6 separate regions of the Homo sapiens genome follow, and all the other regions are linked to region 1. Evidence: promoter capture Hi-C in 16 types of primary human blood cells and fetal thymus (Javierre and others, 2016). All regions are on one chromosome and are shown on one strand. The core of a region is centred on a gene start or on the middle of the fragment in contact, and the rest is flanking DNA. Distances in the headings are between cores, read along the strand shown. Region 1 holds the start of C1orf216 (chromosome 1 open reading frame 216). Region 2 overlaps KIAA0319L (KIAA0319 like). Region 3 overlaps ZMYM4 (zinc finger MYM-type containing 4). Region 4 overlaps KIAA0319L (KIAA0319 like). Region 5 has its middle 3.8 kb from the start of ZMYM4. Region 6 holds the start of ZMYM4-AS1 (ZMYM4 antisense RNA 1).

The links. Contacts are between HindIII fragments. The CHiCAGO score rates a contact against its expected background, and 5 or more counts as called.
Region 2: a contact is called between a fragment that was not itself captured here and the fragment with the promoter of C1orf216 in region 1, in 4 of 17 cell types (total CD8 T cells, naive CD4 T cells, fetal thymus and 1 more). The highest score is 7.6, in total CD8 T cells.
Region 3: a fragment that was not itself captured here is called in contact with the fragment with the promoter of C1orf216 in region 1 in 1 of 17 cell types (endothelial precursors); the score reaches 5.3 in endothelial precursors.
Region 4: a fragment that was not itself captured here is called in contact with the fragment with the promoter of C1orf216 in region 1 in 1 of 17 cell types (endothelial precursors); the score reaches 6.9 in endothelial precursors.
Region 5: a contact is called between a fragment that was not itself captured here and the fragment with the promoter of C1orf216 in region 1, in 1 of 17 cell types (M2 macrophages). The highest score is 5.4, in M2 macrophages.
Region 6: the fragment with the promoter of ZMYM4-AS1 here is called in contact with the fragment with the promoter of C1orf216 in region 1 in 1 of 17 cell types (M2 macrophages); the score reaches 5.3 in M2 macrophages.

Annotation. Positions count from the first base shown.
Region 1 is chr1:35,717,114-35,721,402 of GRCh38, forward strand. It overlaps C1orf216 (chromosome 1 open reading frame 216), which reads right to left and starts at 1,771. Exons shown (of 2, transcript NM_152374.2): 1 at 1,594-1,771. It also overlaps a transcript of CLSPN not described here. RefSeq lists silencers at 1,503-1,932, 3,595-3,889. The HindIII fragment of the contact is 2,001 bases long and covers 889-2,889 here.
Region 2 is chr1:35,455,850-35,460,530 of GRCh38, forward strand. KIAA0319L (KIAA0319 like) reads right to left here. Exons shown (of 21, transcript NM_024874.5): 9 at 4,456-4,588; 10 at 164-392. Among named protein-coding and RNA genes, the nearest start is that of ZMYM4-AS1, 92 kb to the left of the region's middle. The HindIII fragment of the contact is 626 bases long and covers 1,117-1,742 here.
Region 3 is chr1:35,412,361-35,417,261 of GRCh38, forward strand. ZMYM4 (zinc finger MYM-type containing 4) reads left to right here. Exons shown (of 30, transcript NM_005095.3): 27 at 1,612-1,723; 28 at 3,106-3,354. Among named protein-coding and RNA genes, the nearest start is that of ZMYM4-AS1, 49 kb to the left of the region's middle. The HindIII fragment of the contact is 1,886 bases long and covers 346-2,231 here.
Region 4 is chr1:35,431,790-35,436,517 of GRCh38, forward strand. It overlaps KIAA0319L (KIAA0319 like), which reads right to left. Exons shown (of 21, transcript NM_024874.5): 21 at 1,703-3,292. The coding sequence ends at 3,105. Among named protein-coding and RNA genes, the nearest start is that of ZMYM4-AS1, 68 kb to the left of the region's middle. The HindIII fragment of the contact is 3,493 bases long and covers 1-3,434 here.
Region 5 is chr1:35,262,630-35,267,144 of GRCh38, forward strand. No RefSeq gene overlaps it. Among named protein-coding and RNA genes, the nearest start is that of ZMYM4, 3.8 kb to the right of the region's middle. The HindIII fragment of the contact is 1,924 bases long and covers 805-2,728 here.
Region 6 is chr1:35,363,042-35,367,349 of GRCh38, forward strand. ZMYM4-AS1 (ZMYM4 antisense RNA 1) reads right to left here and starts at 3,036. Exons shown (of 2, transcript NR_046659.1): 1 at 2,925-3,036. The region is part of intron 5 of ZMYM4 (zinc finger MYM-type containing 4); the gene reads left to right. The HindIII fragment of the contact is 9,120 bases long and covers 2,711-4,308 here.

The DNA of each region.
Region 1 (4,289 bases), core at 521-3,020:
TCCTTCCTTCTCCCATCTCATTAATAACCACATTCTGACCATTCTTCCTCTTCCAGGCCATTTCTGACCTGGATTATTGCCTCGGCCTTTTCACTGATCTCTCTGCCTCCAGTTAAAAATGTAAATTTCACTTGTCACCACTCCTAATGCCCTCCCTGAATTCCTGCTAAACCTCTACCTGGCCTACAACACCCTGTTTGATCTGGCCCCTGCTCACCCCTCCATACCTGCCTCTTGCCACTCTGCCCCTCCCATCATAGCAAACTGCCCAGAGATCTCAAAACACACCATTGTTTTTCTTACAGTATTCCTTTGGCCTACAATATCCTTCCTCTCCCCTCCCCTCAAAGCTCCTCCCTTCTCCACCCAGCAAATTCCTTTTTGTACTTCAAAATTAGCTGTAATATCCCCATGTTTCCATGTCCCCATGTCTCTGAAGCCGTCTTGATACTGCCCCAATCAATATTACATAAACAAGCACGGTTAGTTATGCCTTCCTCTGGGTCCCCACTGCGCTGGGTATACACTGTCTTATCCAACTTTGCATCCGTCCCTGGCATACATGGTCGACGATCAGTGAATGTCTATTCAACTGGCATTTTTGGTTTGTGGTAATGATCTTGTAATAGCAGTTTGTAATCTGGCTTGGACCTCCTGTATATATCCTCCATCATATTCCCCAGAGTCAGCCAGCATAGAGCCCTGAACCAGGCTGTCTGTGCATACAGGTACTTGCTAAGTGAGTGAATGGGAGAAGAGACTGCAGTGAATTTCCATGCTCAGGAATCCACTCTTGACTCCCCAGGGCTGGAAGAGCTGGGTTCTGGAAGAGCTGGGTTTGGTTCCCTTTCCTACCCCAGCCAGGGAGCCCCGCCTTCCCCAGTGACAAGCTTTTCTTCTGAGCCTGCCCCCTTCCCTCCCAATGCCTCTGGAACACAGCCACTATCTTGCGGTCCCCGTCCCTAGCTTGCTCCATTCTGAGGCCCTGGAGGGAGGGCATACCACACCACTCTTCTCTCCTCCATAACCTGCTTCTAACCAAAATTAGGATTTGAACTGACAAAGGGATTCTACTGACCAAACAGCACTGGGATTAGAACAATTGAAGAGCATGAAGAGGAAGGGTATTGTAAGTGGAGCCGGCACTGGAAGGCGCTCCATAGGTGGCATGGACCCTCCCCACCCCCAGCAATGGGCAGAGAAGTCCTGGGGAGAAGGGTGTAGGAACAGTTCGTTTCTAATCGCCCTCTAAGCAAGGCTTGTGGGAAGGTGCCTAGAGATCTCCCCTCGCCCCAATTTTTTATTTTTCCTATACTTGGATGGGGCCGTGAAGGAAGCTGGGATGGGGTGGGGGTGGCGCTAGGGATCACAGGGTTCTCAGAGATAGTAAAATGAGAACCCCGACACGCCAGGACTAGGTCTCCGCCCAAACAGGAGGCAGCCTCCTTTTCTGGCCTTGCGGGAGTGGGAGACCACCCCAGGAGACAGAGACCATCCTTCCCTAGTCTCCTCGAAGGAGGCCACTGTGACTCCCCGCTTCCCGCGGCTGAGCCCCAAGCCCCACCCCGCCTCGGGCCCCAGACTCGGACTCACGGCGTAGAGGCGCCCGCTCCGGCGCGTCTGGCTCTGGCTCCGCCCGGCCCTGGTGGTGTCTAGTCCCTGGGCTGGGGGTTCCTCGGCCTGGGCGTCTCCGCGGTCCAGGCGTGGGTGCGGGGCTCCCGGGCAGCGCGCCCAGCCCCAGTCCCGGACTGCGGAGTCAGGCGGCGTCTGCGCAGCAGGGCGGAGCGACCGGTCCCACGTGGGCCGGTTCGGTTTTCCGCGGAGCCCCGCGCCAGGCCCCTGCGCCGGAACCGCTTCGCCCCCGCGCGGGGCCGCGTTGACCCAGGCCTTCCAGGTCCGGTGCTCTCTCCTATTGGCATTCGCTGGGCCCTTCCCATCAGTTAGCCTCGCTGCAGACACCGTGCCATTTTCAAGTGAAATCTGATTAGTCACCACCTTCCGGCGTTAAACTCCTCAATGGCTTCCCCACCGCCGGGACAACCCCTAAGGCGGTAGCCGCGGGGCTCTGTGCGTCCTGCCCTTCGTCTGCCTCTCCGGCTTCGTCCTCTACCCTCCCTCTCCGCAGTTACCCTCCCACACGCCCCTTTCCGCCACGCGGCTTTGGCACGCACTGTTCCCTCGGTCTAGCATTCTCTTCCCCCTCTCGACTTACTCCTATTTCAGATCTCTTCTCGGAGAGATCTCTGACTCCCTAGATCACGTTCGTTCCCCCCTTTATGTCAGAGCACATTCCTTTTCTTCATAGCATTTATCACAATTTGGAATTATATATTCCTTTTTGTGCTTACTTGACTAAAGTCACTGAGGCCGGGTGCGGTGGCTCACGCCTGTAACCCCAGCACTTTGGGAGGCCGAGGCGGGCAGATAACCTGAGGTCAGGAGTTTGAGACCAGCCTGGCCAACATGGTGAAACCCCATCTCTACTAAAAATACAAAAATTAGCCGGGCTTGGTGGCGGGCGCCTGTAATCCCAGCTACTTGGGAGGCTGAGGCAGGAGAATCGCTTGAACCTGGGAGGTGGAGGTTGCAGTGAGCCAAGACTGCACCACTGCACTCCAGTCTGGGCAACAGAGTGGGACTCCGTCTCAAAAAAAAAAAAAAAAAAAAAAAAAAAAAGAGAGAGAGAGAAAGAAGATCCAAGCCTGGGACAGGGCTCAGGGCTGATGTCCTGTACCCGGGACGGGGGCTCTCCGCAGGACACAGAGCCCACCCATGATGCCTGTGAAGTGGGTACCAGTGCTTTTGCCCAGGTGAGGAGGAACAGCGTGATAAAAAAGGGTCTTGGGTTCCAAACTCCAGTGGATTCTTCTCAGAGCTCCACTCTACTGAAGCTTGACCCCCCTCACTCTTTTGCACCCTGGGGAAATGTGAAGTTGGGGGCCCTGTTTGGAATAAAAGAGAACAGAGTTCAGTAATTGCTGACCCTAATATATGAGGTGCCCTCTTCCAGTTTCAATTTGATTCCAAGTCACCATTCTGCAACCTAGAGACTAATTGGCAAATTAAATCACACCAAGAAATCCTATATGCAAAAACAGGGAAAATGGAAAAGAAATTTTTATGATTATGATGACTATTTTAAAAGGGAAAAGGAAATAAGAAGGAGAAGGCAGAAGTAATTCAAACTTTGCACACTCCTCCAGCTAAGAAAATACAGGTGGAGACGTCAGCCCCATTTCTACATCAGATCCTGTGGCCTAAGTCTTCTCCCTTCCCTTATCCACTTCAGGTTCCCCTGGCCTTCAGCCTGGGGTGACCCAAATCCTCACTTTTTTTTTTTTTTTTTTTTTTTTTGAGATGGAGTCTCGCTCTGTCGCCTAGGCTGGAGTGCAGTGGCGCAATCTCGGCTCACCGCAACCTCCACCTCCCGGGTTCAAGCGATTCTCCTGCCTCAGCCTCCTGAGTAGCTGGGATTACAGGTGCATGCATCACGTCAGCTAATTTTTGTATTTTTAGTAGAGATGGGGTTTCACCATGTTGGTCAGGTTGGTCTTGATCTCCTGACCTTGTGATCCACCCACCTCGGCCTCCCAAAGTGCTGGGATTACAGGCGTGAGCCACCATGCCTGGCCCAAATCCTCACTCCTAAAGGCTCTCAGCTTTGGTGATCTAGGGTTATGCAGTTCTGCCCAGACCACAGAGCCATAAAGTCATCAATTGTTTGTTCTGCCCAGAATAGCCCTTCTCCGCCTCTCTTTGGACTCTGTCTCTCCCAGCTTAACCATGTGGGTCAAATGAAAGCCTGAAGAATCCAGGGATAGGAGCTCCACTCCAGGTGAGCCAGTCAGAGTCCTTCTCTGGGATCTTCTGAAACGAAATTAAAGGAAGACGAGGCAGGGAAGAAACAGAGATGAGAGATAGTTCTGATAATGTTGCAGACCCTGTTTCCTGCATCTAAACTTATAGTTTTGTATGCCTTATTTTGCCAAGCCTAACTTGAGTGGAATTTCTTTCACCGACAATTGAAAGAATGCTGATTACTACAATAGCACAAGGTGGTGACCCCAGGGTCTCTGGGTTCCATTCACGCACCTCTCAACACTTATTAGGTAACAGTAACTCCCTTTCTCCTTGGTAGCCATGATCAGTCCAGTCTACACTGAGACCACCCCCTTCTCCTATTCCTCTAGTGCTACCAGGAGCCGAAATCCCAGGGAATCATCTTTGTGTTTCTTGGTTAGAAGAAACATTCCTCCCATGATGCTATCACCATGTTTTGTTTTGTTTTT
Region 2 (4,681 bases), core at 180-2,679, 260 kb before region 1:
ATTACAGGCGTGAGCCACCATACCCGGCCAAGATAAAGATTTTTGCTACCACGTTAATCAAAGGCCCCTAAAGCTTTCTCAGTTTGTTTGGAGGTTTCTAAAAATGCAGTCCAGCAGCTCTACTTCTCTTGGGCAAGAAAAAATAGGAACCATTCCCTCCTACCTGCATCTCCACCACTTTCCCTTTGCTGCTTGGGCTGAGTGACCACTCATAGCTGGTGATGCCATGATCATCAGTGCTCTGGTTCCCAAAGAGGGTGATGGAGTTTTGGGGCAGGGTGATCACTTGGTTGGGGCCTGCGTTGGCCACAGGGGGGTAATCCACAGCTTTGTTCACTGTCAGGTTTGCAGTAGTAGAGTTGGTAGCTCCATCAGAGTCTACTACAGTCAAGCTATCAGGGCAGAGAGAGGAGTGTGATCAGGGACGGGTTTAAGGAAAGAGGAATAAACACTAGAAGACTGAAAATTAAGGCTAAGAAATACCAATGTGGCAAGGTTACCTATTCTTACCCACTTCTATTGGAGAAGCAGAAAGTACTACTAGAAGCTAACACTGACTGAAGTTTTATGATGTGCTAGGCACTGCTCCAAGTTCTTTATATCTCATTAAATCCTCACAACAATTCTATAAAGTATCATCCTCATTTTACTCCTCACATATATGAGGAGAAAGACAGAGAGGCCAGGTGCGTTGGCACACACCTGTAATCCCAGCACTTTGGGAGGCCAAGGCGTGCGGATCACCTGAGGTTGGAAGTTTGAGACCAGCCTGGCCAACATGGTGAAACCCCATCTCTACTAAAAATACAAAAATTAGCCAGGCATGGTGGTGCAGGCCTATAATCCAGCTACTTGGGAGGCTGAGGCAAGAGAATTTCTTGAACCCGGGAGGCGGACGTTGCAGTGAGCTGTGATTGCACCACTGCACTCCAGCCTGGGAGACAGAGGGAAACTTCATTTAAAAAAAAAAAGAAAAAGGAAGGAAGGAAGGAAGGAGAGATGGAGGGAAGGAGGAAGGGAGGGAAGGAAGGAGGGAGGGAGGGAGGGAGGGAAAGAAGGAAGGAATGAAGGAAGGAAGGAAGGAAGGAAGGAAGGAAGGAAGGAAGGAAGGAAGCAAGCTTGCCCAAGGTCATACAGCTTGAAAGCAGTGGAGTCAGGTTCTGATCCAGGCAATATGTCTCCAGCGCCATTTTGTCCTGCTGCTGCCTGCACGCATCTGTGTCCTGAGGTCTCTATAAGAATTGTCTGATATGGCCCTCATAACAACCATATAGAGTAGGCATCATTGATTCCAGTTTTATAAGAGGCTTAGAGAGGCTAAGTAACCCACCCAAGGGCTATATAGTGAGCCAAGATGCAAGCATAGTTCTCTGATTCCAAAGCTCAGAAACCAAATCTTAAGAAGAGGTAATTCTTAGTCCCTATTCCCGATTCCCTACGCTATGTAGTGCAAGCTCCGTCTGCAGCAGGCTGTTTTCCCATCATCCTGTTCCAGCTGTTTACACATCACAACGATGGACATCCTAGGCAGACAGCCTGCGGGACGAACCAGGAGGGCTGGCTCCAGTAAGGCAGGAGCTTGAGATGAAAATGAATTCTCCTACGCAACAGTCCCACAATTTGTGCCAGTGAGACACAGGATTTGCAAAAAAAAAAAAAAAGAAAGAAAGAAAATAAAAAAAAATGTTCATTTATAAGAGCAGGCTTTTACCTAAATGATGCCTTCCAGCTGAACAGCCTAAAGCTTCTCATGCCACCTCAAAATGTGAGCATAAGCAAGCAAGGAGGTTTGGGATCTTTCCATTTTGCTGACAGAAAGAGGAAAAGCATAGAAAAGACATGTAGTTTGTTTAAATCTCACCACCAGCCACAGACAGGGCCAGACGTCAGTGAGGTTTTATCCTGCAGTCTCACCTTTTACCTATGGTGTGAAGGGGATTTTTGGTATTACAGCCTTTAGGAAAAAAGCACAAAAACCTCAGACACACAAACATGTACCAATCAGCAGATATCTGAAAAACAAAAATTTACAGAAGTTTTGCCTCTTTTCCTAGTTTCTCTGTTGTTTTCACAGGTTTGGGTTTTTTTGTTTTGTTTTTTTTCTGAGACGGAGTCTCGCTCTGTCGCCCAGGCTGGAGTGCAGTGGTGCGATCTCGGCTCACTGCAAGCTCCGCCTACTGGGTTCACGCCATTCTCCTGCCTCAGCCTCCTGAGTAGCTGGGACTACAGCTACCTGCCACCATGCTCAGCTAATTTTTTTGTATTTTTAGTAGAGACGGGGTTTCACCTTGTTAGCCAGGCTGGTCTCGATCTCCTGACCTCATGATCCACCCGCCTCAGCCTCCCAAAGTGATGGGATTACAGGCATGAGCCACTGCGCCCAGCCTGTTTTTTGTTTTTAACATATGCCATTTGTCTCCTATGTCAGGACAAAAGCACCTTATAGACAGACGGCAAAATGGCAGCTGCCCATTTTCTCTTTCACCTCAAACAGTCCCTGGCTTGCCTGCAAAGATCCTGAAACCAAACAGCAGCTGACTATAGGGCTGAGGAAAAAGGCTACTGCCATGTAAAAGAGAGAGGAAAAGGTGAGTGAATTACAACCTTAATGCTAATCAAATCAAATCATATCATTTCATAGATTTTTTTTAAAATGAAGGTTAGGAAAAAAAAATCACTCTCATACCCCATCCACTAAAAAACCTGTAGGTTAACCTTGTGGTTAAAAGCTTAGACTCTAGAGTTAGACTGTGTGACCTTGGGCAAGTTACTTAAACTCTTTGTGCCAAAATTTCCTAATCTGTAAAATGAGGATAACCATAATACCTGTTATAAGAATTAAATGCAATACTGCCAGCAAAGAGCTCAGAATAGTATTTAGCACATAGTAAATGTTCAAGAAATATCAGCTATCATTGTTACTATGTTTTAAAAGGATCAACCTGGCCCAAGCTGAATTCTGTAAATAGAAAAATTCCGACATTAGAAATCTAAGGTGAAAACCAGCTCAAATGTCCATTTTAAGCGACGTAGAAGGCTCCAATCTTGTTGTACTGGCAGCTACTTTTCATTCACCTGAAGTGTTGAATCAATGGAAATCCTGCTAAGTCAGAAGTTGCATATTGATTTATATGGTAGGTATTGTGCTAGGATACTCATTTCTGTGTCTCTGGCACCATCTAAAATTTGGTTAATCTCAGATTCATGGGAAGACAGATAGACATGGATAAACTGTCACACTATGGTAAATGCCACATAGAGGCCCTGAGTGCAATAGGGAAAGAGGAGAGCCATATTCTCTCCTGTCTGGAGGGATCTCAGAGAACCTCATGGAAATTGAGGAGGTTCTTAAGGATGGGCAAAACTTGAACAGATTGAGAAGGGAATTAAAGGAAGTATGAACAAAATACATGGATCAAGTCAAGGAGTGAAGTGGAATGAACCCTGACTTCAGGATTAGAAAATCTGCATTTAGGGCCAGGCACGGTGGCTCACACCTGTAATCCCAGAACTTTGGGAGGCTGAGGCGGGTGGATCACAAGGTCAGGAGATCAAGACCATCCTGGCTAACACGGTCTCTACTAAAAATACAAAAAAATTAGCCGGGCGTGGTGGTGGGTGCCTGTAGTCCCAGCTACTCGGGAGGCTGAGGCAGGAGAACGGCATGAATCCGGGAGGCAGAGCTTGCAGTGAGCCGAAATCACGCCACTGCACCCCAGCCTGGGCGACAGAGCAAGACTCTGTCTCAAAAAAAAAAAAAGAAAATGTGCATTTAAGTTCCAGCTGTGAGACTTCAGAGAAGCCTCATTTTTCTTAGCTGTCAAATGAAGATAGTATCATCTATATATCATGTTTGTATGATACTCATATATTAATACAAGTGCTTTTTAACATACAAGGAATTACGCAAACATAAGGAGGATTACTCTAGAGTCAGCTTCAAAGCTTTAGTAATCACTCTAGAATATCAATACTAGCTCCCCAAATGTACTTTCTTTGAATCAAATTCCCCAAAAGCCCCAGCAGAGAATGAAAACCACTAGTCAAACATAAAGATTATGAGGTACGTAAGCTGAGGAAGCATTTTCCAAAGGGAAGAAAAAAATGAGAGTAGGTCTTTCAGATTTTGCCTGAGAAGAGGCAAAGGAAGATGGGCCTTTTCATTTAACAACAGAAATCCTAAAAAAAATTTTTGGAGACCTGCCAGATAAGGCTTGAGAAAGATTAACTGTGGCAGATCCTGATCTACTATACAAGAACCTTTGCCCTAAAAAGTTACCATTGTTGTAATCACAATCACCATAGGGCTCAGAGAACCAATGGAACCAAAAGCTGTATTATCAACCAACTCCACAGTGAATTTGATATTTGTCAAAGTTACTCATATAACAATGTAAAACCCACGAGAGGCAAAAAAATGGCCTATGGTAAACTTGAAGCTGAATCCTAATTTACCTGAAAGTGTAGTTCCCAGGGACGAGTTTACTTAGTTTTAATATGGCTGTATCTTCAGAAATCTTCTCTTCTCTTAGAGGCCCCTTAAGTTCTTCCCAATGGTACTGAACGATTTTATCATCATCAGTGCTTTCTTGACCATAAAGAAACATCAGTTACAACATGAGAACGCTTGGTCTTAGCACTTATCCAGTTTACACAAACCAGGACAACTACCCAGAGATTT
Region 3 (4,901 bases), core at 39-2,538, 310 kb before region 1:
TTACTTCTTCCTTTCCTATTTGAATGCGTTATATTTATTTTTCTTGCCTGGCTGCTCTGCTAGGATTCGCGGTACAGTGTTGACGAAGAATGGCAAGGATAGGCATTCTTGTCTTGTTCCTGGTTAAGGGGGAAGAGACTTTTTTTAAACATGTATGTTGCGTTATATGTACTGATATATTTCTGTAACTGTACAAAACTCACTTCTGCATAATGGAATTTCTTAAAGATTGGAAATATTTTTGCATATGAATAGTAGTTGACTTTGTGTGATGAGTTTGAATGAGTTTGAATAGTCTACTTTTTCTTTATTTTGAACTTTTTCAATAACGAAGATATATTTTTAAGCTTGAAAGTGACTATATTAAAAGAAGAAAAAGAGGAATACTGTTGAACAACAAACTGTAATCTGCCAATAAGTTCATAAATTGCCTTTGAGGAGGCCTCATAAAAATGCCTATTGAAGTGGTAATTTTTGTTAGCCAGAATAAATTTAAATGGAAATAATTTTCTCCAAATCATACATAGAAATGCAAGAAACCAAGATAGCCACAGAAATATAAATTAAAAATACTAAACCTTAAAAACACCAAAATACTTTTATCACGTAATTACATGCTGCCTTGGATTCCGTTACTACTCATGGTGTGTCCCTGTCTCAATTGATTTTATCTGACCTGCGCCGTCAGTACTTTTTAAAAGAGACAGGGTCTTGCTCTGTTACCCAGGCTGAAGTGCAGTGATATGATCATAGCTTGCTGCAGTCTCAAACTCCCAGGTTCAAACAACCCTCCTGCCTCAGACTCCCAAGCAGTTAGGACTACAGGCATGCACCACCACCCCTGGCTATTTGTTTTTAAATTTTTTGTAGAGATGGGTCTCACTGTGTTGCCCAGGTTAGTCTTGCACTATTGACCTCAAGTGATCCTCTCACCTTGGCCTCCCAAAGCACTGGGATTACCATTCCTGGCTCAATACATTTTTAAACTATAGGTATTCTTTTTGTTCTAGCCTATGATATGGTTGTTAATGGTTATAATTAACATAGTTCAATGTCCTATAATTAGACTTGAACTTTTTTGAGGGCTAGGTTGTGGGGCAGAGTTGAGAGCTGTAGTTAGAAGGCTCCAAATAAATAGTTTTTAAATTTGGGTTTCCTCAGGTCAACTGACATTAGCTAACTGTGTGATTGCAAGAAATGATCTTGTATCTAGGGTAAAAAACAAAAGAGCACATCTGCAGATACACATTATGAATCAGGAAAAACATGATTTGGAACGTGTGCATTGGAACCAAGTTTTAGTATGTCAGTTTTAGGAACTAAGTAAAGGGTTCTTCATAATACTTCTTCTGTACCATCCGTGTTTGAAAACGAAGTACAAAAACTTTACCTTGCAAGGTCAGTGCTGAAGATAATGTGTTAATAAGAACAGGAGCTTTAGCTTGAATTCTAGTGTTTTAACAACTATCTCTAAGGTACTGAGAGGTTAAACATGGTTTATAATATTGTAAGGGCAAAAATTAAGGGTAAACTGTATTTCTTACAATAATTTTTTAAGAACTCATGTTTTCTTTTTATCAACATGTATATTTTCTTTTTTTTTTCTTGTAGTACCTGTTTGAAAATGGTAGAATAGATAACATTTTTACTGAGCCCTATTCCAGATTTATGATTGAACTTACCAAACTCTTGAAAATATGGGAACCTACAATACTTCCTAATGGTAGGGTGATTTTTTTTTTATTGTTTTCATGATATGCTTTCTTAAATTGCTTAACTTTTTTGGTTATCTTTAAAAAAATTGTTCATTTTTATTTCTGTCCAGATTTATACCATATTTGGACTTCTGAGGAGACGGTCTTTGGTTTATTGTTGATTGTTTTAGGAAAACTGTACAAGTCATATAGCACATGTATAGATACTGATTGCAGAAAATATAAACTAATTTGAAGTTACATTTACCTTTTTAGAAACCATTTTTGATCTGGTAGCATTGGTGTAGCTTTCACATATCATATCTGCTAACAGTGGACCTTTTTTGGTAGTTTGTATGTATACTGAACTGTTGTTAAGAGAGTTAAGTCCTCGTCCTTGAATTATCTTTGACCAGATGTCATCAGACAAGTCCATAATTCACTCCAGGTCTCAGGCTGAGGTGAATGAAGAGGTTCAATGTTATGCTTAGTAATATATGCACCTTTCTGTTGGGCTGCAGAGCACCTTTAACAGTAAGCTTAATGATCTCCAACAGGAGTTTGCAAACTATGGTCCATGGGCCAAATCTGGCCTGCTCCCTGTTTTGCAATCTATGAGCTAAAAATTGTTTTTACATTTTTAAATAGTTGGGGAAATTTTTTTAAGAATTCCTATTTCATCATGTGAAAATTATATTAAATTCATGGCTGGGTGTGGTGGCTCACACCTGTGGTCCCAGGTGTGACTTTGGAAGGCTGAGGCAGGAGGATCACTTGAGCCCAGGAGTTCAAGATCAGCCTGGGCAACAAGGTGAAACTCTGTCTCTACAAAAAATAAAAAAAATTAGCTGGGCATGGTGGTGGTGCCTTGTAGTCCCAGCTACTCAGGAGGATGAGGTGGGAGAAGCACCTGAGCCCAGGAGTTTGAGGCTGCAGTGAGCCCTGATCGTGCCACTGCACTCCAGCCTGGGTGACAGAGTAAGACCCTGTCTCAAAAAAAAGAAAAGAAAATTATATGACTATAAATAAATTTTACTGGCATATAGCTCTGCCTGTTTATGTGTTCTCTACAGCTCCTTAGTTTCTACAGCAACAGCGTTGTTCAGAGCCTATATGGCCTACACATCCCAAAATATTTACTTTCTGGCCCTTTATAAAGACAGCTTAACCCCTAATCTAAAATATCAATAGATTAAAACGGTTTCAGGAGACTCCACGAACGGTGTCTACTTGAGTGGAATCATCTGCCTTTTTCTTTGTGGTGCGTTTTCTGGTTTTCTGCATAAGGAAGAGGGGAAAGAGGAATAGTCAGTTTTTCTCTTTATATCTCCCTGTCTTAGAATTTGAGAGATTACTTAGTCTACTTTAGCAGGAGCTCAGTACTGTTTCTTGTACCCCTTCTTCTGTCTAGGTTACATGTTCTCTCGCATTGAGGAAGAGCATTTGTGGGAGTGCAAACAGCTGGGCGCTTACTCACCAATCGTCCTTTTAAACACCCTCCTTTTCTTCAATACCAAATACTTCCAACTAAAGAATGTTACTGAGCACTTGAAGCTTTCCTTTGCCCATGTGATGAGACGGACCAGGACTCTGAAGTACAGTACCAAGATGACATATCTGAGGTTCTTCCCACCTTTACAGAAGCAGGAGTCAGAACCAGGTACGGGATACTGTTTGTCAGATTTCTCTTTGAAGTCTTAGTAGTAGTACTAAAATAGAGAGTTACTGCAGAAAGGTAATTATAAATGCTAGACGTGAAAGAGTGTACCTTTAACATTTGAATATTTTTCTCTATTGTCAGAGAGTGGTCAAAGGCTGGCCTCAAAGTGAGAGGAATCACGTGCTTCAATATACTTTCATTGGCTTTTAAATTAGAAATTTTGATTTAATTGGGCAGAGCTCAAATAGCCTGCATTTTAAAACTTCTCAGGAAATTAAAAAATACAAACAGGGTTGAGAATCACTAATTTACTAGCCCCAGATGAGTCAATCACTAGTTAAACGAAACCTGCAGAACTTTTAGTCCATTGTTTCTAAATCTTTTTTTGACCAGAGCCCCTCTTTTTAGTTAACATTGTGAAATTCTGAAGGAACTTAAAAGCTGACCTACAATATACTGCTTTTGTACACAATAGAATAATAGCAGTGACAATTTTATTAGAAGGTTTATTGTCTTGCATTTCAAAAACAGCCTATTAAATAAGTTTGTTTTTAATGTTCAGAAACTTAATCTTGGTATTATAGGATTAGAAATTAAATTTATTATTTTTTGAATAGAATCATAAGTCCTGAACTTCCCAAAATCAGTTTCTGAGAGTGAAATACATTTTTTGAATGTGAGAATTTAAATCACTGAAACTAAAATCTGTATTTGTGATGTTCAACTTTGTATAAACTTTTTTCTGAATTGTTCATTTACTAAGATTATCTTTTTCACCTAATGTCTGTGTCCTGTTTGCTTAGTTTTATATATATGTAACCCACTTTGTGCTCTCAATTGATTTTTATTTATTTATTTATTTATTTTGAGATGAAGTCTCACTCTGTCACCCAGGTTGGAGTGCAGTGGTGTGATCTCAGCTCACTGCAGACTTCGCCTCCCAGGTTCAAGCAATTCTCCTGCCTCAGCCTCCCAAGTAGCTGGGACTACAGGCATGTGCTACCACGCCTGGCTAATTTTTGTATTTTTAATAGAGACGGGGTTTCACCATATTGGGCAAGCTGGTCTCGAACTCCTGACCTCAGGTGATCCACCCGCCTCGGCCTCTCAAAGTGCTGGGATTACAGGCGTGAGCCACCATGCCTGGCCTCAGTTGGTATTAACTGGGGGAGGGAAAGGCAGGTGGATAATGTTTCCCTGTTTGCTGATTGGGTGCTTGACATGATTAGTAGTGAATTCAGCTTGCTTTCTAAGTGAGTAACTAGCAAAGTCTTTCTATTTAGCTAGCTGCTAAATGGAAAATGGGTGAGTTTTGTTAAAGTAATAATGCAGGAAGCTGGGGAAAGTCCTATACCGGTTGTTAAGAGCAGATATAGGCTGAGTGCAATGGCTCATGCTTGTAATCCCAATATTTTGGGAGGCTCATGCGGGAGGATTGCTTGACCCCAGGAGTTTGAGGCTGTAGTGAGCTGTGATGGAGTCACTGCACTCTAGCCTGGGCAACAGAGTGAGACCCTGTCTCCCAAAAAAAAAAAAAAAAGAAAGAA
Region 4 (4,728 bases), core at 438-2,937, 290 kb before region 1:
TAATAAATGCCAAGAAAAATCATGATTGGCCTGCAATCCCAGCACTTTGGGAGGCCGGGTGGGTGAATCACCTGAGGTCAGGAGCTCAAGACCAGCCTGGCCAACATGGTGAAACCCCATCTCTACTAAAAATGCAAAAATTAGCCGGGCGTGGTGGTGCATGCCTGTAATCCCAGCTACTGGGGAGGCTGAGGTAGGAGAACTGCTTGAATACAGGAGGCGGAGCTTGCAGTTATCACGCCACTGCACTCCAGCCTGGGCAACAGAGCAAGACTCTGTCTCAAAAAAAGAAGAAAAATCATGATTGCCAGTGTTCCCAGGATTCAGCTCCCCATTTAAGAGCAAAATTCCAACTAAAATATATATATGTATATATATCCTTCAGTGGGTTGTAGCTGAGGGTAAACAAGATGGAGAAAAGAGGCCCAGAGGAAAAGGGAAGCCTCCCTTTTTTACTACAAAGCTAGTAAGTGGTCGGGTCCTGCGGTTCCTTCCCAAATCCTTTGAAGCTATTCCCGATGCACCAACCTCACCAAGGCCTTATCGCCTCCCATCCAGCTATTCTGTGCAGTCTGGCCTGTACCCAGCTCCACTGTTCTGTTGCCCGAGCTGCCAATGGCTTCCACTGTGTGCGGGCCAACTTGTTTTTCATCTGGCCACTCTCTGGAGTGCCCTCCGCTCCACAGAGCCTGTCTGCTGTGGCTGTGTTTGGGCTGCAACACTGCCCCCGACCTCCACCCGTCAACTGAGCAAACCTGTGCCCTTAGCTTGGAGGACACTCCTTGGCAGATTCGAGACCTCCCTTTACTAAACTTACTTCTTTCACCCTCACTCAGGATGGGACATGTGCTGGTTCCTATTCATGCGGCATTGACTGTGCTTCTAGGCCAGAGGTTCTAAAGGGAGGCCCAGGACCAGCGCATCAGCATCTCCTGGGAACCTGTTAGAAAGGCAAATTCTTATGTCCTCCCCCTTCCCCAGACCTACTGAATTAGAAACCCAGCAACCTGTCTGAAGAAGCCTCTCGTCTTGAGGTTGGAGACTGCTGCAGAGCGAGCAAGGCTCTGCCGGGCCTGAGTTCTCCTCTGTCACCATGTGTGTAGATTAAGTTACTTCATCTCACTATGCCTTGGCTCTCGATCTGTAAAAACAGCCACTGCTGCCCTCCTGCAGCAGGGTTTTGTGCCCAGGGCCCTGGAGGGAGCATGAGCTCAGTGGTCCTTCCGTCCTCCCTGTCTTGGGAGTGCTAGGCTGTGCACCAGCCCTCCCAAGCCACATACCCAGCAAAGTGCTCTGTGAACTAGGTACAGTCAACACATTTGGGGGCATGTGGCCAACCTCTACTATTTGGGAACACCAAAGGGAAGATGAGTGGTCAAAATTTCTAAAGCCACACCCTGGACTTTAGGACACTCTGTGTCTCCCCAGCTTGGTCACAGGTGGACATGATCATTTTTGTGTTAACAAAAGATATGGGAAGAAGGGACATCAACCCTCCTCCCTTAAAGCCAGCAGGGGTACTGGGGTGGTGCACTCCCACCCACCAGTGGCAGGCAGGGCCCAGCACCACTGCTTGCATGTGCTGATGCCAGGCCCAAAACTTCCTTGCCAGAGGACACGACCTCACAGGGCTGCCCAGGGGGTGGGAGCTGTGCACGGGTCCGAGACGTAGCGTGAAGCAGCACACCCAGCAGACAGAGTGCACAGTTAAATACCATGTTTAATCATCCCACAATGGACAGTAGTGCAGTAGTAGAAATTATAAGTGTCTCTTTAAAAAGTCACTCCCCCAAAGTTTCCATTCCCCAATACCCAGATAACCATGGTGGAACAGGGCCAGGGTGAGGGGGACTCAGGAAGTCTTGGTTCCAAGGAGATGAAAGTCTTTCCAAGTCAAATTTGCCTTGTGAGCAGCCAAGAGCCCAATGAGTTGATGCATACGCGCTCACTCTAACACGCACACATGCAAGGGACACAGAACACATACAGATGGAGGGACAGAGAGGGGACCACAGCGGGGCCATCGCACACATGCGCTCTCATGCCACAACATTCCAGTCCATCTGGGGCTATCTCCTCTGGGGACAGGGAGCGGTGGCCTAAGCCCCGAAGCAGCAGGTGCCGGTCAGATGGAGAGGAGGGAGGCCGTCTGTCCAGCCTGGCTGCTCTGACAAGGGCCCTGGCAGCGAGAGAGGCCACCCGCCATCCCTGACACAGTCAATCCTCCCTAATCTCGGGCCGGATGGGAGAAGGGAGTGGGGCTCCAGTGTTAAGGGGGGGCCAGATATCATTTCTTTTTTTTTTTTTTTTTTTTTGACGGAGTCTTGCTCTGTCACTCAGGCTGGAGTGCAGTGGCACGATCTTGGCTCACTGCAGCCTCCACCTCCCAGGTTTAAGCAATTCTCCTGCCTCAGCCTCCCGAGTAGCTGGGATTACAGGCATACGCCACCAAACCCGGCTAATTTTTTTTTTTATTTTTAGTAGAGATGGGGTTTCACCGTGTTAGCCAGGGTGGTCTTGATCTCCTGACCTCATGATCCGCCCGCCTCGGCCTCCCAAAGTGCTGGGATTACAGGCGTGAGCCACCGCGCCCGGCCATCATTTCTATGCTACCATCTCAGCATCTGTGGTGAGGGGAGGGGTGCCACTTCCTCTTTGCCCAGCGAGAGGGCGTACTCTACCCCAGAGAGGGAAACACCATGCCCACAGTGCTTGGTTTTGCACTCAGGTGTGCGGGCAGCACAGCAGGCCTCACCTTGCAGCACTCTGGGCACAATGACACTGTCCACTGGGGAGCTGCAGAGCTTAGCAGCTGGCTGGGTCTGCCCTCGGGGGAGGGGAGGAGTTTGCAAAAAAAGGAGGCCCTGAGGTGAGGATATCTGGGGGCCCACCAGACAGGTTTAAAGAGGAAACCTCTTCATTCACAGCTTCGTTGAGGGGTTCCTGGAGGACGTCTCTGGATTCAAGTCCCAGGGGTTCTGGTTGGGACTGTCAGGGCGAAATGACCAGCAGATGCTGGGACAGCAGCTGCCCGCAGACTCGGGAGGTAGGAGGACTGGCCGGGCAGTGTGCTGGGCCCTGCCCTGAGGAGACAGACCAGGTGGCTACAGGATCTCCTCCCGCGGGCTCCTGGCCTTCAGAGGGGTCTGCCCGTTGGGTACAGAGCCATTCTGACCATGCAGGAGTTTGCCCTTCTCTCGGTCTGGCCATGTAAAGATGGCATCATCGCTGTCCAGCTCTGACTCGGAGTGCATCAGGCTGCTACTTAGCAAAAGGCCTTTCTGTTTGATGCCTGCAGGGAAAACAAGGAATCCAGCATCAGGAGACTGGCCTCAAGGCTGGAGCCACCCCCACACCTTACCCCAGCCTGAGGAGCCAAGGAACAGGGCAAGTCACAGGCTCCTCTCCAGGCTGGGAGGTGCAGATGGGAAGGAAGCTTCCCTAGTCCTTCTCCCGGGCCCAACTGGTTGGAACAGTCCACTAAGGGGTGTCACAGAGTACGGATGAGAGCACACCTGGGGTCTCCTGCTGGTTCTTCATCTCCAGTATCCATGAGCTTTGGTTCAGGCCACTCAGTGACATTCTCTTTTCTTTACCTTTCAAATTTGGAATATTTTATCACCTCCCTCTATGGGTGGAATGACATGGTAGGCAGGAAAGCACAAAGAACTCAGGCTCTGGAGAATGAGCTTTTAGCTGCACCCTAGGTCAGCAAGGCCGCTGAGTGCTGGCACAGCAGGAGTGTGCAGTTTCAGTCCATGTAGACATTTGCTCTGTGGGCTCTTGTCTGCTGTGGCTTCACTGGATGCTAGGGTGGCAGAGTAGGTGCACACTTGGACAGGTCTCTCCTGCTGGGAGAGCCTGACTGAAATGGGGACTCTCAGAAGCAGTCCCAAGCAGCCAAATCACAGAACACACAAAGCAAGAACCGTATGAAGCACCTGGGGTCGAAGAAGACACCTGCGATTCTGCAAGCCATGGCAGTCCCTTCACTACTTATCCCTATAGATGCCGAGCGGCCACAGACATGAAATGTGGTCTGATAAGAAGAGTTCCAACAGCAAAGATGGCTGCCCTCTGGCTGGTGCAAAAACTCCAGAGAAAACAAACAGCAGGCTGAGATAGCAGGACTAGAGTGGGAGCTGCCAACAGGTGGCACCCCCTCAGCAGTGTTCTGGGTCCTGGGAATGCCCACGCCCAGGAGCTAACCTCCCTCCTTTCTAAAAAAGGTAACCAGTCAGGTGAGGGGTGGACATCTTAGGGAGAGGGGAGAGCCCTCTCCAGCACCACAATCTCATCATCCAATAATCATTCTCCCTTCTCCGGGGAGAAGGATCCAGATCTCCCTCACATACTGAAAGTGCCTTGAGAGGATTCCCAGCCATTCAGCCCTTCCTGGCCACACCTGACTTAAGGGTGGCAGTGCCCCGAGCTCTCCAGGCTGAGCGCATCCAGACCCTGATGCGCCTGCCATTCAGGACCACATGCGCCCAAGGACCTTGTCCATGTACAGCTGTGCCTGTGCCACATGCTCTGGGGCTTGGGCAGGGAGCTTCCTCACCCGCGTTGGTGTCAGGGTTACAGTTCTGGGTCTTGACTGAACCTCTCCTACTGAGTCTTCGGGCAGCGGAGCAGCAGGGCCACAGAAGAACACTGACCGCCAGGACATCTCCAGTGTGGTGGGGACAGTGGAAAGGGCCCTGGCAAGGGCCCAGGTCCTCCAAAGGC
Region 5 (4,515 bases), core at 517-3,016, 450 kb before region 1:
TCAGTTCACTGCAACCTCTGTCTCCCAGGTTCAACCGATTCTCCTGCCTCAGCCTCCCGGGTTCAAGTAGCTGGGATTACAGATGCCTGCCACCATGCCCAGCTAATTTTTGTATTTTTAGTAGAGACAGGGTTTCACCATGTTGGCCAGGCTGGTCTCAAACTCCTGACCTCAGGTGATCCACCTGCCTCAGCCTCCCAAAGTGCTGGGATTACAGGCATGAGCCACCGCGCCTGGCCCATGTCATTTATTTGACCTTTCCAATGTATTTGGTCATGGTTTACTATTTTTAATGTGCATTAGTGATTCCCATCTTTTAAAAAAAGATTTCTTGGGCCACATTCCTCTCCAATAGCACTCTATCTCTCTAATCTTTTTCAAAGTGAAACTTCTTGAAAGAATTGTTCACATTCACTGTTTCTATGTCTTCATCTCTTATTCTCTCTTCCAGCCACTCCAATCATGCTTATGTTTAAACAAATCCACTGAAATAATTCTAGTCCAGATCACTAAAGATCTTTCAATCGTATCATCAATTCTTGGGCCTCATCTTACTTGTCCTCTCAGTGACATCTGAAAAATTAGTAATTGAGCCTCTCCCAAAACAGTCTTTATTTGGTTACTGAGACCACAAATTCTCCTGACTTTCCTGCTACTTGGCTGATTCTCTTTCTCTTCCTGAGCTGTAAATGTCGGGGTGCCTCCGGATTCATTTCAATATACGTGCTCTTGGTAACTCTATCAAGTCTATGGCTTATATCAATGACTCTCATATTTCTATCTCTAGCCCTGTTATCTCTCCTAAGCTTCAGATTTGAATATCTAACTGCTATTCGACATTTCCACTTGGATGTCTAGAGGCATCTCAAATTTATCATGTCCAAGACATCTTCCTTCTTTCTCTGCCCACTTTCTCACATCTGCTCTCTTTTTTTGCATTTCAAATAATGGGCAACAGCATTAACCTATCTATTCAGGCTAAAAAGCTAAGAATCATCCCTAAATCACTTTTTCTTTCACTCCCAGCACCCAATTCATTAGCAGCAATTCCATGGGCTACGCCTTCAAAATACATATATTCTGAATCTAATTTTTACTATCTCCAACGCCAATGCCCTAGGCTAAGTCATTGTTATCTCTTACCTGGACTGCCACAAAGCCTCGTAACTTACATCCACCCTTGCTCCTTTATGGCTTATTCTGCAATGCACATGGTATCCAGAGGGTTCACATCATTTTTTTTTTTTTCAAAGACTTCAATGGCTTTACATCATACACAGAAAATTACAAATCCTTACCATGGCATCCAAGGATCTTCATAATTTGTCTTTGTCTGCTTCTCTGACTTCATCTTCTGCCCCATCTCACTTGGTCCTAGTAACATCGGCACCTTGCTTTTCTTGAACACTTCAAGTTTGTTCCTGCCAAGGGGTTTTACACTTGCTGCTCCCTTTGACTGGAATGCTCTGACCCAGACATTTGCACAGATGGCTCTCAGTCATGAGGTCATGATTTAAGTTTCAGTTCAAATGTCACCTCCTAGCCAGGTGCGATGGCTCACAGCTGTAATCTCAGCACTTTGGGAGGCCGAGGTAGAAGAATCACTTGAGCCCAGGAGTTTGAGGCTCCAGTGAGCTATGAAGGTGACACTGCACTCCAGCCTGGATGACAGAGCAAGATCCTGCCTCTTTTTTTTTTTTTTTTTTTGATACAGCGTCTCACTTTGTCGCCCAGACTGGAGTGCAGTGGCACGATCTTGGCTCACTACAACCTCTGCCTCCTGGGTTCAAGCAATTCTCCTGCCTCAGCCTCCCGAGTAGCTGGGATTACAGGCATGTGCCACCATGCCCAGCTAATTTTTGTATTTTTAGTAGAGACAGGGTTTCACCATGTTGGCCAGGCTGGTCTGGAACTCCCGACTTCAAGTGATCCACCTGCCTCGGCTCCCAAAGTGCGGGGATTACAGGCATGACCCACCGTGCCCAGCCAAAACCCTGCCTCCAAAAGAAAAGAAAAAGAAAAACAAAGTCACCTCCTCGGAAAATATTCACTGACTAACATATCTAAAGTAGCCCCACTACAGTTATTTTTTATCCCACTTGTTTTACTTTCTTCCTAACATTTTCTGAATGGATCTACCTAAATGTCCAATGTAGTTTAAAACATATTTGAATCTAATGGTTAGAATTCTGTTAGTTAATAATTTCTTTTGGAAAGAAACACTGTATCTTTCCTGTGGCTGCCCTCTCCCTCTGAGTGAGTATCTAAAATAACGTCTGCATTTATGAGGCATTATGACTTTGGGGAAGCCTGAGACCTTGAATCTATTCGGAGTCCCTGACCTCTCAGGATGCTCTACAGCCTGTTGTTAAGAGAGTGGAATGTTTTGTAGCCTGGCCTCGCTAAGTTTGCTCAGAGCCTGAAGGCAAACCACACAGCTCTTCCTGAGGTCTGGCTGTTACTACTTTTTGTTCCTGGCCCAGTGTAATTTACAGAGCTACTTCCTCCTATACTTGCCAGCCAGCATTCTTGGCTACTTTCCGTATTCTTCTACAGGGTATGTGGGAACTTCTGGATATCTTCTCTCGCAGGAGCTAAGGACCACTCACTTGCAGAGCTCCGCCCAAAACCCTGTACCTAATTTTGTGTATGTAATTCTGTGTTCTTTTTCTTAAAAACAAAACAAAACAAACAAACAAAAAAACCCTCCCTCTCCCCCCATCATGTAAGCTTCAAGATCTGTAAAACCTGGATTCATCTCTGGCTGAGAGACACTCTGAGGAGCTAAATGCAGACCTGCTCTTTTTTCCCAACTACATCAGGGCATGACTTTTGCTCATATGTGGCTGTCTGCTTGTTGGTATGGGCATAGTCTGCAAGTCATCTCTACTTGGAATCTTAAACAGGAGCAGAGTAAGAATCCTCTCTGCCTTGAAGAGCTGGAATGGGAAGACAGGAGCACATGTCTCTCAATGATGCCTCTCTTACTTTTCTCTTTGTTCTTCTTCTCTCTACCCTTTTATTAAAAGAGTCAGACTTTTCTTTTATTTCCCTATATGCAGCCTCATGGCTTAGCTGTCCTGGATGGAAGGATATTTGGGTGGAAGGCATTTCCTGTGGAGTATGTAAAAACTCTATGAAATTATTATGTGCTGAGCTTCATAGATTAAATGGAACTAAGAAAATTTAGCAAATTCTTTTTCTCTCCATTCTGTTCTCTCCTGATTGGGAAAATAAGTCTCAAGGCTACATTTCAAGCAAGAGTCTATGACAGAAGATGACTTAAGAAAGTTAAAAGAAATCTGTTTGATATTTGCAAGATACTAGCCCCATTATAGTCTAGTTTTTTTTTTTTTTTTTTTTTGAAACAAGTCAGAGCACTGAACTTGTAGGTGAAATATCCCATTTAAAATGTTGATATATGATTTAACTTTTTTTTTTTAAAAAAAAGATAATGGCCGGGCGCGGTGGCTCACGCCTGTAATCCCAGCACTTTGGGAGGCCGAGGCAGGCGGATCACAAGGTCAGGGGATCAAGACCCTCCTGGCTAACACAGTGAAACCCAGTCTGTACTAAAAATACAAAAAGTTAGCCGGGCATGGTGGCGGGTGCCTGTAGTTCCAGCTACTCGGGAGGCTGAGGCAGAAGAATGGTGTGAACCCGGGAGGCGGAGCTTGCAGTGAGCCCAGATCGCGCCACTGCACTCTAGCTCGATGACAGAGTGAGACTCTGTCTCAAAAAATAATAATAATAATAATAATGATACTCATATGGTATTAGGAACCAACAGTGTTCTAGGAGATTTAGAGATGTTAACTAATTTAATCCTCTTGGTGTCCCATTTTACAGATAAGGAAAGTGAGGCACAGGACAATTACCTTGACCAAGATCATATAGCTATACACAATACAAATCAAATGCATTTCTGTGGGACAGATTTGGTCACAAGGCCACCAATTTACAATGTCTACTTTACGATATTTCAAATAAGTCAGAAAGAACAAGGCTTTGAATTCTGACTTGGCCTCTGTGCTGAATGATCTTGGACTAGTCACTTAAGCTCTGTGAATCCTTCTATAAAATTATGATTAACTTTTCAGTGCTCACTAAATGGTTTTCTCTTGTCTTATTCCTCCATATGGATGACTGCCCTGAACATTCATGTTATGCTTGTATATTATCTGAAATGCACAAATCCCACCTATTATTCGAGACCTAACACATTGCTAATACCTCCAGAAACAGTCTGTGTAGGACAGAGCCCTGAGGATCAAGATGTCTGTTTCAGTCTTGATACTGTTACTAATCCTGTGTGTGATCTCAAGCAAATCATATCTTCTCTAAGCCTCAGAGGCTTCATCTTGAAAATGTGGAGTTAGACTAAACTAATAAGTTTAAACTGTGATCTGAGAAACTCAACATTTCTGTAATGATGGGAGGGGGCATGAAAGGAGAGAGAGTGCAAGGGTGAAGCTGGGTGAATAGACTAGTGGGTTCCCCACTTACACTCCCAAC
Region 6 (4,308 bases), core at 1,786-4,285, 350 kb before region 1:
GGTGCCTGTAATTCCAGCTACTTCGGAGGCTGAGGGAGGAGAATCACTTGAACCAGGAGGTGGAGGTTGCAGTGAACTGAGATTGTGCCACTGCCCTCCGGCTTGGATGACAGAGTGAGACTTTTTTTTTGGTAAAGTAAGTTGCACAAGCTTGTCTCTAACTTCTGTGCTCAAGCGATCCTCCTGCTATGGCCTTCCAAAGTGTTGGGTTTACAGACGTGAGCCACCGTGCCTGGTCAAGTGCATTTTTCATTTAGATGTTTTTGGACAGGATTTCTCAAACTCCACAGCATTGACATTTTGGACCAGATAATTCTTTGTTGTGAAGAAATGTCCTGTGCATTGCAGGACATTTAGTAAGCATTTGTGGCCTCTACCTACTACATGCCAGTAGCAGCCTCCTCCCTTGCCAATTTTAACAAAAAATGATCTATTGAGAACCATTGTATTAGAGTAAGCAGATGGAAGAATAGGAGATTGCAGAGGTTGGTGATTCATGTGAGTCACTGAGTCAAATTGATGCTCAGTTAGCATGAATTCCATGACGTTCAGTGGAAGTTGGATGTGTTAGGGTAGTGATAAAGCTATAGGAGTTGGATGGATATGAGTATACTTGCTACAAAGAAGAAAGTAGAAGGAATATAAATAGATTTTTCTGTTCTATTTAAATAGAAGGTAAATAAAAGCATGTTTATAGAAGCAGGTAATGGAGATCTTAGATATCTGAATTAGGGATAAATAGATGTCCCAACACCTGGGGAAAGTTCATGTGGCAGTATATGCTTCAGAAGACTACAGCCATGTCTATATGAAGGGCAGATCTTGTATCTCTTCTCCTGCCCCAATGTGGGCATGCTGGCAGGGTACCAAAATCATCTCTTTCTTTTGTACTTGAACCATGTGACACTTCCTTGGGACAAAAAGGCACTTAGAGCATAAACCAAATACAATAGGGGTAGAGAACACTGAGAAGGTTATTAGTATTGTTGTTTTCAGAACAATCAGAGGTTCCAGTGGCTGGAGAATATAAATAGGATGGAACAGATAGAAACACTTAAATTTTTATATACTTATTCAGAATTATAAAATGTGTTATCAAATACTGAATATGAATATGAAGTTTCATCATGATTATGGGAAGAACTTCCCCAAAGGCTTACTCCCTGATTGATTGGACTTGAGAATTAAGCAGTAATGTGAGTAGGTCCTGGGCATAAGATCCAAAAGCATTCTTTACCCTGACCCCACAATAAGGGACTTGTAGTATGTGAGTGGATAGAGCTAGGTTTTCCCTGAGGAGTCCTTTTTGTTGTCAGCAATACCAGTCCTATAGGATCAGACCTTTGATAATTCTTCTAGAAATCCCCCAGAGCAGCTCTCATGTTATAAACTAGATATGTGATTCTTTCCTTCTTTTCTTTTTCTTGTCTTTTCCACACCCGTCTCCACCTTCCCTCCTTCTTTTAGAAGAGTATTGCCTTTCAAAATTGCATAATTTATTACTTTTATTCATTTCCCATGGACTGGAAAAGAGAACTCTAGTGTATTATATTATTAGTCTCAAAAAAGTACTATTAGCCTCTCATAAAATACTGATAGATTTTACAGTTGTGGTCAGTGTTTACTTTTGACCATCAGTTACCAGTAACTTCTTTCATGGTTCAATAAAATCATAGCTTTAGTTTATGGCACCTTTTCAAAACTTCCTTTGGCTTTTCTTTGTGCTTAATTTAGGTAGTTTTGCTTTTAGCTCACTTCCTAATTCTCTTTTTTACACAATTCATTTTGGTCCTAATTTCTTTACTTTACTATATAAACAAGGTGCTGAAATGTGTGTGTATGTATTTAACTTCCTCTACCCATTTGCTCTTGGTTATTTCTTCAGTTATGATATTCTGGATTTGCCAGTCATTGTCCGTCCTCCTGCCTCTATTACTGGCATAATGTCATTGGGTCTCACAGTTTCATTTCTTCATTCTAATTCTATTGCATGTTTCTATAATGTTTTCTGTAGTATTTTTACAGTTACAGATGCTTTTACACGTACTGTGTTGCTTAATTCGCCTAACAACCCTGTATAAGATGGCCAGAGTAGAGGATGTTAACATTTATAGGTGAGAGAGCTGAGAGATATAGAGATTTAGTTACTCAAGCCCTCATGGCCAGGAAGGAGCCAATCTGGGGTCATAATCAAAGTCTTTTTTTTTTTTTTTTTTTTTTTTAGTCTACCAATCTTTCTGTAAATAAAAGTTGTTTAATTTTAAAAATACCAAGGGAAGGTTTCAAAATAGATACTTTAAAGAGAGCCAGAGACCTCATTTTCCTCTTTTGCCTTTTCCATAGGGTCTAAAAACTGTACATTCAGTAAATACTACATTAAAGTCATGATTTCTTTTTCTTCTTGTTCATAATAATAGAGGACGAGCTAATGTGTAGTCTCTCATTGAAAGAACTCAATTAAAATGGGAAAGCAAATGAACTAATTGTCATAATAGTCATTCACACAGTTTTGGAAAGAAAATGTAGTAATTCAAATGTTGGGGCTCTTTTAGCCATATTGAGTTAATTTGGCAATAGAAACTGTGTTATTCATTTCTAAAATACTTTCATGGGATATTAATATTGATCTTCATTTGTAGTAAACTAAGAAGGTAAAGGTATTGGTAAAGGAATTTTTTTGTGTTTTGGCATGTGTTTTTCTGCTTCTGAAAGCTTTTGGGTTACCAATTAGATATTTACTTCTCAGAAAATATTTATTAGTATTTGGCTACTCATTGATTTGTTTATCAAATACTTGTAAAATTAGTGATCATGGGAGGATCCAAACATAAACCAAACATGATTGTGCCTTGAAGGCATTGTGGACCATACAAACAGTACTTAAGATGTATACTATTTTACTATATTACATAAATAATACGTACTCAAGGCTAAAGGAATCCAGCAGAAGTTTGCAATAGCCATCACAGAGACTAAGAGAGCTGACTGCAGACCGTTAATGTATGCCAATGAGTATTGGTTGTTTCTGGAGTTTTCTGAGATTAAAATAAAAATATTTAAGGAAATTTTCTTTAATACACTATATAATGAAGGAATGTCATGATTAGTCGATGTTAGAAAATCTTTTAATACATATATTTCATCAGCAGGTCAAATAAGGGTATCTGTAATAGTCACTTTATTAGATGCCAAAAGACATCTCATGTAATTCAGACATTTCTTAGAATAGATTTTTTCTTGATCATAGTAAGGAACTACTACTTCAGATCAGTAACAGTTATTGAAGTTGAAGTAAAATGATGGAAATCTTCTGTTAATATTACTAAAAGAATACAAGTTGCGGATGTCATCGTTATTATTTAACTCTTGTTGGATTTTTACTTCAATCCATGTTAAAGAAATTAGAAGAAAAAATAATGGAAAAAGGGAAATAAAATTATCACTTGCTATTAAGAATATTTATGAAAGAATTAATAGAATTCATGAAAATTTAGTGGAGTACCTAGTTGAATTATACCAATACTTCTATAAATAAACTTCCCAGTTAGATGATATAATGAAAAAGATACACTATTCCCAGCAGCAACTAAAAAGTACTTATATCAAATACAACTTGAAATAATGAAGAGACCATCTTTTTAAATGTAAGAAATATGTAGATGTCAGTTATTTTTAAATTAAGATTTAAGGCCAGGTGCGGTGGCTCACGCCTGTAATCCTAACACTTTGGGAGGCCAAGCGGGGGGCGAATCACTTGAGGTCAGGAGTTCAAGACCAGCCTGGCCAACATGGTGAAACCCTGTCTCTACTAAAAAATACAAAAATTACAGAAATTAGCCGGGCGTGGTGGTGCATGCCTGTAATCACAGCTACTCGGGAGACTGAGACAGGAGGATCACTCGAGCCTGGGAGGTGGAGGTTGCAGTGAGCCAAGATCGCACCATCGTGCCCCAGCTTGTGGGATAAGAGTGAAACTCCATCTCAAAAAAAAAAAAAAAAATTGAGATTTAGATTTGATGCAATTCTGATGAAAATATCAATGGTTAGGTTATGAAGTTTTGTAGAAGAATAATAGGCATGCACATACACACACTTATTACACATATATTCTAAAAAATGGATGGAGAGGTTGAATGTGGCAAATGCTGTTAAATGGTTGAACATCATACAATTAATTAATTTTTTTTTTTTTTAAAAGACAGAGTTTCACTCTTGTTGCTCAGGCTGGAGTGCAATGGTGCAATATTGGCTCGCTGCAACCTCTGCCCTCCCACCACCCTGGGTTCAAGCGATTCTCCTGCCTCAGCC